Linked DNA regions of Homo sapiens: region 1 is linked to region 2. Evidence: promoter capture Hi-C in human tissues and cell types (Jung and others, 2019). All regions are on one chromosome and are shown on one strand. The core of a region is centred on a gene start or on the middle of the fragment in contact, and the rest is flanking DNA. Distances in the headings are between cores, read along the strand shown. Region 1 overlaps THUMPD2 (THUMP domain 2 tRNA and snRNA guanosine methyltransferase). Region 2 holds the start of TMEM178A (transmembrane protein 178A).

What was found. The method cuts DNA at HindIII sites, captures the fragments that hold promoters and counts their contacts. A contact is called where the count stands out against the background at its distance.
Region 1: a fragment that was not itself captured here is called in contact with the fragment with the promoter of TMEM178A in region 2 in 2 of the 25 tissues and cell types used here (hippocampus and neural progenitor cells).

What each region holds. Positions count from the first base shown.
Region 1 is chr2:39,731,484-39,738,486 of GRCh38, reverse strand. THUMPD2 (THUMP domain 2 tRNA and snRNA guanosine methyltransferase) reads left to right here. Exons shown (of 10, transcript NM_025264.5): 10 at 1,428-2,426. The coding sequence ends at 1,752. LOC124905994 (a long non-coding RNA gene) reads right to left here and starts at 1,492. Exons shown (of 3, transcript XR_007086294.1): 1 at 1,409-1,492. It also overlaps a transcript of TMEM178A not described here. The HindIII fragment of the contact is 4,220 bases long and covers 1,125-5,344 here.
Region 2 is chr2:39,661,290-39,667,946 of GRCh38, reverse strand. TMEM178A (transmembrane protein 178A) reads right to left here and starts at 2,030. Exons shown (of 4, transcript NM_152390.3): 1 at 1,573-2,030. The coding sequence starts at 1,972. The HindIII fragment of the contact is 7,843 bases long and covers 1-6,657 here.

The sequences.
Region 1 (7,003 bases), core at 1,985-4,484, 69 kb before region 2:
GCTCAAGCAGTCCTCCCATCCCAGCCTCCCAAGTACCTGGGATTACAGGCACACGCCACCACACCTGGCTGATTTTTGTATTTTTTTGGTAGAGACATGTTTTGCCATGTTGCCCAGGCTGGTCTCAAACTCCTGTGCTCAAGCGATCCTCCCACCTGAGCCTCCCAAAATGTTGGGATTACAGGTGTGAGCCACCATGCCGGCCCTATAGCATTTGACACTGTTGAAACTGTTTCTTTCTTGAAACTGTACTTCTTTGGCTTCCTTGACATAACTGTTGTCCAGATTTTCTCTGAGGATGTCTACTTCATGGGTCTTCTCCTCCGTCACTTTTTAAATGTGAAATCTCTGCTCCCTGTCCCATTTTCTCTTCTCAACCTGTACTGCCACCCCAGGTGATCCCATCCACCATTATGGCTTTAGCTACCATTTACTGTATCTTTACCTCAAGGCCTGGTCTTTTCCATTACTCCAGGCTGTGTATCCAGCTCTCTGGTGGAATCCGCACTTATGTGTTCCTTAGGTACATCAGCACGTTCCAAGCTGAACTCCTTACTCCCCTCCTCCCTCCACTTCCCACCCGCTGTGACTCACCCACCCACTGAGCTGCTTTCAGAGCTGCCTCCTCTCCACTTCCTCCCGTCTTTGCTGCTTTTTCTGCTTCCAGCACCCTCCCTTGCTGCAGCCGCTTGCCGTCGCTTTGCCTGGCTCATTCCCACTTGTCTTTTAACTCATAGCACAGGTATCTTCCTCTGGGAAATTCTCTCCTCTGTCCCATGCTCGGGTTTGGGACCCACCTCATGTTCCCAAGCCCCTCATGCTTGCCTTGATTATAGCATTTTCACACCCTTTACTCGCCTCTCTCTCCCAAAGAGATGTTCAGTGATCTCTTGGCAACTTACAGGGCTATGTCACGGGACACAGGCAAGTGTTTTCATGACTTTTTCCACATAAGTGCTACATAGACTTTGATAATTGAGTAAATGCATTCTCCTCAAGAAGCTGACATTTCAAGATCTGCCCTTCTTTTTCTGATTTTTCCTTCGCCATTTCTTTGTTCGTGTCCTAACTCTTTCCTGTTAACTTTCTTCTGCTGTCAGGCTACTGCTTTTAATACATGCAGTCTTTAGGATTCTGTCATTTGCCTTTTCCTTTATACAATCATTTATTAGACCGTGACTACAAATTACTTTGAGGCTTGCCTTTTGAGTAAAAATAGATAATTAAAGCAGATTTGTACTAGGGATTTCATAATTACTATAATGAATATACATTATAGAAGATACTACCTAATTATCAAAAATCCTTATATTTAAATGGATAAAATTAAATTTCAAATTAAAAACATGAACCATTTTAAATGAAGTGGGATTGTTTGTTGTCTAGAAAGGAGAAAGATAGCAATTACCATTTTTTTTTTGTCACAGAGTGCTTCATGTTGGCGGAACCATTGTATTGTTGCTTAGTGAAGATCACCACAGGCGCCTTACAGATTGTAAAGAGAGCAACATCCCTTTCAATTCCAAGGACAGTCACACAGATGAACCTGGAATTAAAAAGTGCTTGAATCCTGAAGAAAAAACTGGTGCATTCAAGACAGCGTCAACTTCATTCGAAGCCAGTAACCACAAATTCTTAGACAGAATGTCACCATTTGGCTCCTTGGTACCAGTGGAATGCTACAAAGTTAGCCTTGGAAAGACAGATGCGTTCATATGTAAATATAAGAAGTCGCACTCTTCTGGACTGTAGCAGGCTTGCTGCCATCAGCCGGGTTCAGGCCCTTGTAAGTTAGCTGTACAGCAGAAGTTTGCTGTCTCTAGGATTCATATAGCACCCACAGAGCTCCAAGTAACCAAATTCCCCCAAAGACAGGAGGTGTGGCTGATGGGTACACATGCTTGGTAAGAGTTTCTGCTTTATATTCTAAAGTACTTAATGTTTTTGAGAAAAAAGTTATCGAATATTTTTTAGACTTAAGTTTTATCTTCTGTCAGAATGTGAAAAGTTCTGCCCAGTTTCTGAGCAAAAACTTCAATTTCAAAATAAAGGTTTTCAGGGGTTCACTTAAGTGTATCACAATCAACACCAGACGGGATATTTTAACTATCAGATTTTCGGAAATGTAAAAACCTTTATGTGTAACTTCTTTTGATATTAAACTTGATTTTTGAGCCTGTAATTTTCTTCTCCATTGGAATGAAAATAATTTGTATTTGCAATACATTTTATATGTTTATTATGTAAACCAACAGTGAGAATAATAACTGAATTAAGCCAGTATCCTTCAAAACATGATGGAAAATGAAATTTGCTTTTTTTCTAAAAGCATTCATACACTGTCACCTCGCCCTTATTTATATAGAAAGTCAGTTTGTTGCTTATGTTCACTACCTGAGAAAAAGAAACAGTAAGTTTGAGGAGAATATATGCTCTGGTTTAATGTTTTTCAATAGTGTGATACAATTGTTCAACTTATTGGCAGCTTTAGTGGTATTTGAACAACTTTGCTATGTTTGGGTAATTTTCCACCCTGTGAATCAGCTCCCCAAAGCAGAAGTCATAAAATCTGTTTTCCAGCCAGGGTGTGGAAACCTGGGCCCCTGGTATCAGGTCCACCCATGTGCAAGCTATGGCATTTGTGCCCAGTGGCAACACAAAGCGATCTTCACCAGAACATTCCTCTCCTGAGGTTTCAGCACTGCTCTTGGCTACGTAGCCACCGCTAAGCTTCTCTCTCTGGCCTTCCTAGGAAATTCTAAGAGCCACCTACTAATCTTGAATACATTTCATTTTTGCTAAAACTAAGTAAATGTGGTTGTGTTGTTAACAGCTGGGACTCTGATAATGGAGACTGATACTCTGAGGGGTTTCAAGCAAGAGGCCCCCAGTAATGTGAATTCGTTACTCGGTATCTGGCCTACTTGGGTTAAAGGCAGTGAGAATACAGCTAGTGTTATAGAAAGTGTATGGCATGTGATGGTGAAGCAGTTCATAATGCCTGTGCTTACCTGATGCTCTGGGAAACACCAAAAACCTGAGGAATACGAGCCCTATGAGGCGGGCTATCTGCTTTTGGTAGAACTTGACAACTCAAAGAAAAAGCAAGATTTCTGTAGTCCTTATTCCTTGGGTTAAAGCAGGGGTCTCAGCCAGCGGCAATTTTTGGTCCTCAGAAGACATATGGCAATGTCTGCAGACATTTTTGATTACCACAACTTGAAGGAGGAGAGAGATACTCCTGGCATATAGTGGATACTGCGGATAAAGGATGAGAGATTAGGTTAACAAGGTAATGGGTGGCAGGTAGAGGTGGTATATTAGATGAGATGGGGCCTTGAAGACTATTTTAAGGGCTTTAGCTTTTACTCAAAACCACTGAAAGAGTTTTGAATAGGTGATGTCACCTAACATATGTTTTAGGATACTGTAGCTGCTATATTGCAAATTGATTGTAGGAAGAGAAGGGTGAAAGTAAAGAGATCAGCTGGGAGTTTTTTGCAATGATTCAGGCAAAAGAAAATGGTAGCTTGCCCCAGGGTGGTAACAGTCGTGTTGGTAGGAGGCACATGGATTCTGGATGTATTTCGAAAGTAGAACCAGAAGGATGTACTGATGTGTTAGATGTGAGGTATGATAAATGGAGAGGAGACAGGAATGACTGAAGACTTTTAGCCAAGAACTTGGAACAGTAGAGTTTTCATCAACTAAGAGAGGAAAGGCTGCAGAGGCTGCAGGTTTGGTGAGAAATATCAGAAATTCTGTTTTGGACTTGCTAGTCTAGACACTCTAATTTAGACTAGTCTAGACAGTCTAAACTAGCAGATCTTGTTTAGACTTGCTTGCTAGACAGTTTTAGACTTGCTAATTTTGAAATATGCATTAAACAAAGTGGAGATGTTGATTAGGCAATTGAATATGTGAGTCTGCACTTTAAGAAAAAGGTCTGCTCTGGAGATACATTATGGGAATTTTCAGTATTTAGGTGGCATGAAACTGGATGGGATCACCAAAGGATTGGGAATAGGAGAATAAGACCAGGGCTGAGCCCTGAATTCCTCCCATACTGAGAGGTTGGCAGGAGAAGAGGAAACTCCAAAGAAAACTGAGATGGAACAACCAGTGAAATAGAAAGAAAACCTAGTGTGGTTGCCTGGAAGACATGAATAAAGGGTATAGAGGAGGAGTATTTAACCCTATAAATGCTGCTAACTGACCAAGTAAGATAACTGGAAATTGACCATTGGCTTTAGCAGTGAGGGAGTCATTCATGACCTTGACCATGGGGCTTTTGGTGGAATGGAAGGGGAGCAAAACCAGACTGCAGTGAGCTTAAGAAAAAATAGGAAAAGAGCTGGAGATAGTGAGCATAGACAGTTCTTACAACTAGTTTTGCAGAACAGGTGAGCAAAGAAATAGGAGTAGTAGATTGGTAAAGAGTGTGAAAGCAAGAGAAAGATTTGTTGGGAGAAGTAGCAGCTTTTTTTTTATGTTAAAGAGAATTCCAGGAAAGACGAAAAGATGATGAAATAGGAAAAAAGGGCTAAGTGCTAGAGCGACGTCCTTGAATAAGGGGATAAAATGCAGTCCACAATTGGAGGAATTAGCTTTAGACAGGAGCATGATAATTTGTTCACGATTACGGGTAGGAAGACAGCATACAGACATTTCAGCTATAGTATGATAAATATGCTCCTAAAAATTTTTTCATTCTCAAATTTATGCACTAAAAATAACAATTTATGAAAAAGAAACATAAATTCTGGTTGGGGAAAACCATTGCAAACATCCAATTTTGCAACCTGAACACTAACAGAAACACCAATCTTAGTGAAAATATTGGCACAGTTAAGACATTATATTCCTAATAAATATGTAAGTAAATAAGGACTTCACCTTTCCAAGAAAAGGGCAATGTCACCTTGATAGACTAGGCATAAAGAAGGGTAAGGAGATGCTGAGTTACACAACAGGCACTGTCTGCCTGGCCAAGGCAGAACCTGCGGCCAAGATGAACCAGAAAAAGCCTGTGATGATGGACGTCATATAAAGAGCCTTATTCCGCACCTTGTTCGTTCAACTCATTCCATTGGCATCCTTCACGTTCAGCTGCTCCTGTCTGGTGACACAAAGCATTAATATGCTAAAAAGAAAAAATCATGTATGAACCAACCCAATTTCCACATGAGAGTGACGTCATCTCCTTACTTAGCAATATTCGATTTAATGCCTATTACAGAAATACGTGTTGTAAGAGAACAGATTATAAGTGGGAGCAGATGCTGGAAGGTGGGCGGATGTGGTGGTGGTAGACTGTGGAAATTCTCTTTCAACTACTTCAACTTTCTCAGTGACAAACCATCCGGTAACTTACCCAGTGTCTGAGTCTATAGCTGGAATAGCTACCCTCAGCAATTGCAGAATACCCATAATGGCTTTCTGATCCATGGAGTAAGGGTATAGATTTTTGGAAGGGCTGATGTCACACTCCTTAGGTTCCCCTTCTTACCGAAATAAACAAAGGCAATACCATATATTTGTAGGAGCTGCAGATGTTAGTGCCAACACTAAGAAAGGCACGGATGTTGATGGAACTCTGTGGCATCTGAAGGCAGCCTACATGAGCTTTGGATTTGCTGCTCTGACTCATTTACTGTTAATTGAGGCCTGGGCTAAGAGATGGCTCTCTACTTGCACCAGCCCTACTGTAAGCAGCTCCCTAATGCCCTTAGAGACCCAGGAGATCTGATGGTGCTCAGAGCAACTGGGGCAGACCTGGAGGGTGTGTGAAGCCTGCAGCAAATCCCAGTAGAGGAAGCACAGCTGCAGCATCTTAGCTTTTGGAGCAAAGCCAAGCTCTCCTATGCAAGTTAATTATTCTCCTTTTGGAAATAACTCTTGACTTGCTATTGGGGCTTGCTTCTGAGGGCTTGACCATGGGACACTAGGTGACCATATGACCTAAGCTGCCCATCTTGAAGTAATGACACGCCAAGCCAAAAGTCGCATGGACCCAACCCAGCAGCACATCCTCATCAGATGGGAGCGGTATATATCAGCATTGAGTTCCACATGGCTGACGGCACTCATGAGCTGCAGGGGCAGTCAGTGCTTTTTCCTCTCAGTGTGCTTCCTGCCACACTCACCCCTCCCTCATAGCCATGGTCTCATGAGGAGTCTCCAGTGAGCAGTTCACCAAGGAGAAAAGAAGTCAAATATGGCTTACAGATGACTCTGCAAGTTTTGCTGGCACCTGTGGGAATTTAATTGCAGCCCCACTCAGGGTGAAAGACAGGAAAGAAAGTGGGGAAGTTCTCCTCCCAGGGAGCAGAACTTGGAGTAGTCCACATTATACACTTTTCCTGGAAGGAGAGATGGCCTGAGAGGCAGATCCTCAACATGTCATCCTCATGAGTATCAGTTTAGATGGATGGTCAGGAACATGAAATAAGGTCTCGGGAAGAGGAATGTGGATGGACATGTTATACTAGACCCCAATATAGGTGAATATTTTTGTCCTATTGGAATGGTCTCAAGAGGCCATACTGTGTAGGAGGTTCTAAATATGTAGTTGGAAGATTGCCTGCCCAGTGCCCTACCCTTTCCCCAGCCATCCTGGTGCTTGCTCAGTGGCCCCATAGACAATGGTTGCAGAGACAGACAGAAACAATGCACTGGCCCAACAAGGACTTCTCGCCAAGATGTGGCCACTGCCACTGCTGACTAATTTCCAGCAGCAGTGACCAACCCTGAGAGACTTAATATAACACTACTGCTGTAGCTTGAGTTTGTCCTCCTGGAAGCTCACATTGAAATTTGATTCCCAACGTGATGGTTTGGGGAAGTTGGACCTAGTAGGGGTATTTGGGTCATGTCGGTAGATATCCCTCATGAATGAATCAATGCCCTCTTGAGGGAGCTAGTTCATTCTCACTCTCCCAGGACTAAATTAGTTACCAGTGATTGGCTGTTGTAAAAGAAGTTCTGCTTCCTAGACATTCTC
Region 2 (6,657 bases), core at 781-3,280:
AAATTGCCTTGCCTAAATGAGCACTCCATAACTGAGCCTCCACATTCAGCTTTTACAGTTTGTTCATGTACTATGCTACTATCAGAATTAATTATGCAGCATCTTCATGAGGAGAAATCAGATTTGGATGCAAGTTAGGAGAGAAAAGAAAATGGTGCACTTCCCAAAAGATTTTACTGTATCTGGTTCCCCTAAAAGTGCTGGAGTCCTTCCACACGCAGACAGATTTTGGATGGCAGTCCCCAGCTGAGTTAGCCATGGGAAGGAGGAAGTTGACATGTTTGAGAAATGAAGAATCCGCCAACTAGCAAGACTCTGAAGGCCAACACATTATTAACCCCCTCTTTTCTATGTCATTCCATTCCAGGCTGTAACTCAACACAAATCCGTCTGTTTGTTTTCCTACATGGCTACTAAATATTAAAATGTACTGATTTTGGACTTTTTCTTTTTTGGCATCATGAGTCCAAGAGAAGAGATGTTGATTTTTTTTTTTAATCTCAAAGGGGAAAAAAATACATTGAGTCAAGTTCTGAAAGTTAAAGGAAGCTTCACAAGTTGTCACACTGAATATTTTTACGTGAATGGGATTACCAAAAAAAAAAAAAAAATCAAACTATCTGATAGCATTCACAGAAGACAGGTGTTGCACAGATTTCAGAAGAACAAATTGATGCTCTGCAACTCAGTGCCAAACAAAACAAACAACAAAAACAACCTGACAAGGTACCACGAACAGAAGACAGAGTGATAAGCAGAGAGTGAGTGCCCAAATCTGGAAAGCTCTAGTTTAAAGGGCGAGGACATTTTCTCTCCTCAGTGCCTGGACAGCGAGGAGGGTGGGGGTATGGGGTCCTCAGGAAGGTTGGAAAGCAGGTGTCCTATCTGCCTCGGGCAGCCTCCACCAGCCTCCACCAGCCAACGATTGGTCTCTGAAGTCTAATCCACACACACCCTGCACTTCAGGGGTATGAAGGAAGGTTCCGGGGCCTCCTTCGCTGCCCATCAGCCCTGCCAGGCTGGGATGACCACATCAGTTCCGTCTGACACCAGCATCCGCACAATACAGGCAAAGCCCCTTCCCTCTCTTCGGAGGTCGGCACCACTTTTCTTCCAAACGGTATTTCCAAAAGGAGCACAACTTGAAGGAAGGAGCCCGGGTGAGAAAAGTCGAGTCTTTGACGGTTAGTCCCCCTCACGGGGAGCAGCGTCAAGAAAAGACACACATGTCAGGCAGGTGTACAAAGGCAGAGAAGGACGGGGAGAGAGAGAGAACCGGGGAATGGGAGGCGAAGGCAGGAAAGAAGGAGACAGAGGCGGGAGGTGCGGCACGGACTTGAAAGGACGCGCAGGATGTGGACGAAAGAAGAGAGTCAAGGAGAGGGAGAAGAAGGGAGGCAGTGGGGAAAGAAAGGGAAGAGATAAAGACTGGAGGCGGCGGGAAGGATGCAAGAATGCCCAGGCGCGGGGCCGCGGCTGGGAGGGGGCTGCGGGGACCGGCGCGCCCCTGGGAAGCCGCGGGCTGCGCTCCACGCGCGGGCGCCGGGGACGCGGGGTGCGCCCGCCGCTCACCTTTCAGGATGAGGGTGTCGATGTCCCGGTCGATGCCCAGGAAGTAGCACTTCCTCCAGAGGCCCGAGTAGGTGGCGAAGAGGGGCCGGCCGCACTCGGCGTCCAGCCCGCCGAGCCCCAGGAGCGAGCGCCAGGACTCGGGGTCGGCGCGCCCCGGGCCGCCCGGGAGCAGCCGGCGCCCCAGCGGGGGCGAGTCCCGCAGCGGCAGGTGCGACAGCGGCATCAGGCGGTTCTTCTGGTCCGGGGGGTCGGCGCCCGCGCGGCTGCGCTCGCAGCTCTCCTTGTGGCGCCGGGGGTCGGTCTCGTACCAGTGGTCGGTGAAGATGGCCGTGACGAGCAGCCCCAGGGAGCACAGGCTGAGGCCGAGGCTGAGCGCCGTGACGAGCGCCCGCGGCTCCATGGCTTCCCGCCCCGCCGCAGCCGCCGGTGGGCTCGCGCGCCGCCGCCAGACACAATGCACTTGGCCCCAGCTCTCCGCCCGCTCCCTCCCTCTTCCCCCCACCTGCCCCCCACCTCCCTCCTACGGCCTCCTCGCCCTGCGAGCCCGGCCCGGCTCGCTCCCTCTCCCCTGGCCTGATCTCGCCTCCCACCGCCCGCCCGCCCCCGGCCCGGCCCCCGGGCTCCTAGCCCTCCCCCGCGCCGCTCTCGCTTTCTTGCCCCCCTCCTCTTCCCCAGCCCCCTCTCCTCGCCCCGGCGCCCCCCACCCCGCGCACTCCTCTCGCCCCTCTCCCTACCTCCGATCCACAGTCCGCCCTCCTCTCCAGCGACCCCCCTTCCCCTTTTAATCTCTCCTCGCCGCCCTCATCCTCCTCTCTCCCCTTAACCCTGTCCCTACTTTCCCCCGACTTTTCTCCAACTCTTCCTCTCACACTTTCCCCCACTCATTTGCTCCTCTGCTCCCCGGCTCCTGGTGCATTTATATCCCGGCTCTGGACTCGGTGCCTCTCTCCACCTACCCCTCGGCACACCCCTCCCGTCCTCTTCCCTCCAACGACCTTAAAAGACATCCACCGACATAAGACTCACTCTTGTCACTTGTCCAAGTTGATTTTGATCAGTGTCCCGTTTTGTACCCAGGAGCAAATCCCATCCAGGTCGGGCTGCGTGGTAGCGTTTAACTCCTTGGAATCTTGATCTGGAGTCCGAAGGTCCCTTTGTCCTGCCGCCTGCCGCCTGCAGGATGAAGCCTCTGAGACCCCTAGGCAGCCAGCTCTATCTGTCGCGGCTCTTTCCCTCTCACTTGCCCATCGCTTAGCCTCTAAGCATTCTCTCTGCTCAAGCCCCTCTTCTGAAAGAAAAAGACACCGAGTGTCAGTGGAGCGATAGAACGATGACCAGAGATTTTTCTCCCACTTCATTTCAACCTGCTATGAGATGGACTTCTTTTTTCGTTGACTACGTCCATCTCCCGCCAGACTGACTGGCCTCCTGGAATTTCTAGAAGAGCCTGGAATCAATGAACCCTGGCAGTGGCACCTGCTCCATGAGGTGATTATTGCCTTTGCATACAGCAAGCCCCCAGTAATAAATCAAAGTAATGATTTTCTCCTGTGCAGGTTTCCTTCTTGGGCTGGGGGGTGGGGGTCAACAGCAAAGCAATGCTACACACCAAAGTCAACACCTGAGCCTGGGGCAGTTCTTCCATCTTCCAGTCACAGAGGTTACTTCCAAGAATGGCAGGCAGATTCACATTTTCTAAAATGAGGAAACGCTAGGACCCGGGGTGCTAAGAGTTAATCACTTGTGCGGTATAGTCAGTCTATACCACAGAGGTGCAATACACTCGTGCCACTCAATGCCCTTGTGGTCATGTCAGAGACAGAAAACCATGCTGCACTGGCCCAGGGATGAAAATGCTTGTGTTCTTATGCTATGAAATATTAATGATGAAGAAATTATGAGGCATTCATTACATGCTAAATGTCATTACTCCATGATTTAATGGGACTTATTAATTAGTGCCCTACATCAATTGGTATTAATATGCTTTATATCCTTCCTCTAGGATGACATCTGTAAAGGTGGTATAAGGCTCTTGCTGGGATTTATTTTCATTGCTGTTTGTGTTTAGCATCTTCAGAGGGTACATTTCCAGTGAAGATCGTGTGCCTATTCTGAGCGGTTCAGTTCATAGATAGATCACTTAAGCAAATCTTTCAGTTATATCAGACCCGCATTCCCATTTCTGCTGACCTGACAGTGTGAATTATTGCTTGGATTTTCTCACAGTTTCAGCAAGGTCTATGGTGAGCTCTAGTCTAATTAAGGAAGACAAAGAATTATAATTTTAGTGTTCCTCTCACCTATAAGCTTTTCCTTCACAGCAAACACTGAGCTCATCAAAGGAGTCTTAGCTGGATTTACACAAAAATGATAAGACTTAGAAGCTTTCTTTAATTTATACTCTACAATATGTATAAAATCCTAGATCTTAATAGATGCACAGAGAGAATACCTTTAACTGTGAGTCCACAGTTGACATCTGAAATTCACTCAAGTCATCATGTGTTCTTTTATTTTTAGAAATGCATCTTGAGATAAAGTTATCAAAACCTTGGAAGCCCCAAGGGTTGTCAAGCCTTTAGCAAGTCCTCATCCCCTTTTCAAGTCTTCACCTCATGTATTACAAGAAATAAATATTCAGCCACATTCCAGAGTCACCTAATCATCTTCACACAATAACCCTGTCTTCAGCTGGAGCTAGACAGAAGAAAGCCTCTTTTTAAGGCACTTCTGTTTAAATTAAAAGAACTTACCATTCTGTCTCATTTTCCTAGCTAGAACTCTTTGATCATACTCTTTTTAGAAAATAGCATTATTCTTCAAGTTCATTTATGTCTATGTTTAAGACCATTCTCAGCATATAATCCAAAGGTTACTATATGATGGATTGCCCTTGACAGTATTTCATAAAAAATGTCACACATTACAAATATGGGCCAGCAGTATGTAATGAGAGCGCTGCCTCTGCTGGTGCAGCATTAATGGCGCCAGCAGGGATGTGGCATATGATGTGTACACAGGCTTTGTTACAGCAACTGCACATTGCTCCATCTATGTTTTTAAAATTCCCCTTTTGGATACTTCCAACAATGAACTATCACCCAGTAGCCCCCTACTCTGTTAGGGGAGTGAAAAATATGAAGATGAGTAAGTGGTGCCCATCTTCAAGATACTCCCAGCCTAGTGGCGAGAAACAGATGTATTGACAGAATGAGAGGCAAATGCTGTAGTAAAAAAATAAAAGAGAACAAAGGGTCATGGGAACATGGACAATGAAGAGACTAACTGCCGTGGGGAGTCAGGTGGGCTACATAGAGACAGTAACTGTTGAGTTAGTTCTTAAAGGATGAGTTAAACTTTGCCAAGAGGATATCAGAAATATTTGTATTGCAGTCAGAGAATACCTCTTTGGCCTAGTGTCTACTTCATACATTTGGAGGCTTCAGTGTCTTAGGCCACTGTAAAATAAGTATTTTTTGTACATTTTTAAGTCATAAAGTTAACATGTTCTAATGACTGACTACAAGCTGGATAGCTGTAGATGAGTGGAAGGAAAAGTCTATACCTGAATATAATCAGTGTAGGAGGCCATTTAGCTCAGCATGGAGTCAAGATGATGGGAGATCAAATATCCAGCCAGAACACCTGGCATATCTTAGCTGTGGCTATGCTATGACCTTGATGTTTTCAAACTTAGCTTGTTTTTTATTTGTCTTAAATTTCTCTTTGCCATCTCCAGATCCGATATCCCCAGTGCATCCCTCAGAGAAAAACAGAATCCCTCACATGACAGGGAGAGCCGGAGAATTTCCACCAGGGTATTTTAATGTGTTATTGGGCTCAAGATATTCAAAATTAAAGTCTCATATTTCCTTATGGTCTAACTGCCCTCCTCAACTCTTTTGCTGGTGTTATATCACTCAATTCACTTAGACACAGTATTTTAGAATTATCTATCACATTGACAAAGTTATAGAGATCTCTCCTTTGAAATTTCTTTTATATCCACTCCTTCCTCTACATTTCTACCACTTGCTCTTACTGTGCCTCTACCCGTCACATCTGTATTATATTACAGCTTCCTCCTTGGCCTCCATGACTCCAGGATCAACCTTCCTGCAGTTATCCCGGATATTGTTGCCAAATGCATATTCTTCAAGTGTTACTTTATCTCATCTTTTGGCTTCCAACTGTCCTTTCTGGGTTAGAGAGAACTATCCACTCTAGCATTCCAAACCCCTTCTTTGTTGCTCCCAGTATTCCCATGGCATTTACACATCACAACTGATGTGCAGGTCATGTTTAAATATTTAGAAAACAAAATACTTTTGCCTTCTCCAAACGCACTTACCATAATATCTATGACATTCATCATATTTCTCTCTATAGTCAGGAAATTCTTTAAATAAATATTTCCTAAGAAAAAAGGTCCATGGACACACACACACACACACAGAGTGAGAGAGAGAGAGATCTCAAACACAGAGCTATGGTAATGCTTTGTTGACATACCTGTGCTAAGCTAACCATCCTAACCATGCATATTCTAAAAGATTTTCACCCTGTTGCACCAGTGCTAAGATTAAAAGCAACATCTTTCCTCATTTCAAACGTTTAGATTCTGCAGTTTAAACTATGAATTTTAACCAAAACTACACACTAGGTTTCATAAAGAGTGTGAAAGTTTCCTCTTGGTAGTATCAGATTTTTTTCAGCATTCAATATAAGCATACAGTCAATTATATTGTTAACCTACAAATATATACAATATATACAAAACGTGCATTTTGCACATTTTTGAAGTATCTTATGTTAAAGTCATCACTCTAACTTTTTCTCCTAAAACAATTTTATTTTAATTCAACAGCATATATTGAGCACCTTCAATGTAAGTTATTGTGCAAAGTCCCACTGGATTTTGTAAAGATGAAGAAAACACGGCCTGTGCCCTGAGGGAGCTTTAAGGTAGTTGGTAAGGAAGATAGAAATGCATGAAGCCACAAAGAAGAACTGCCTGAAACTAGTACTGTCACCAAGGTACAAAACAATGCAACAGGAAAACCTACTACAGAGAGATTCCTT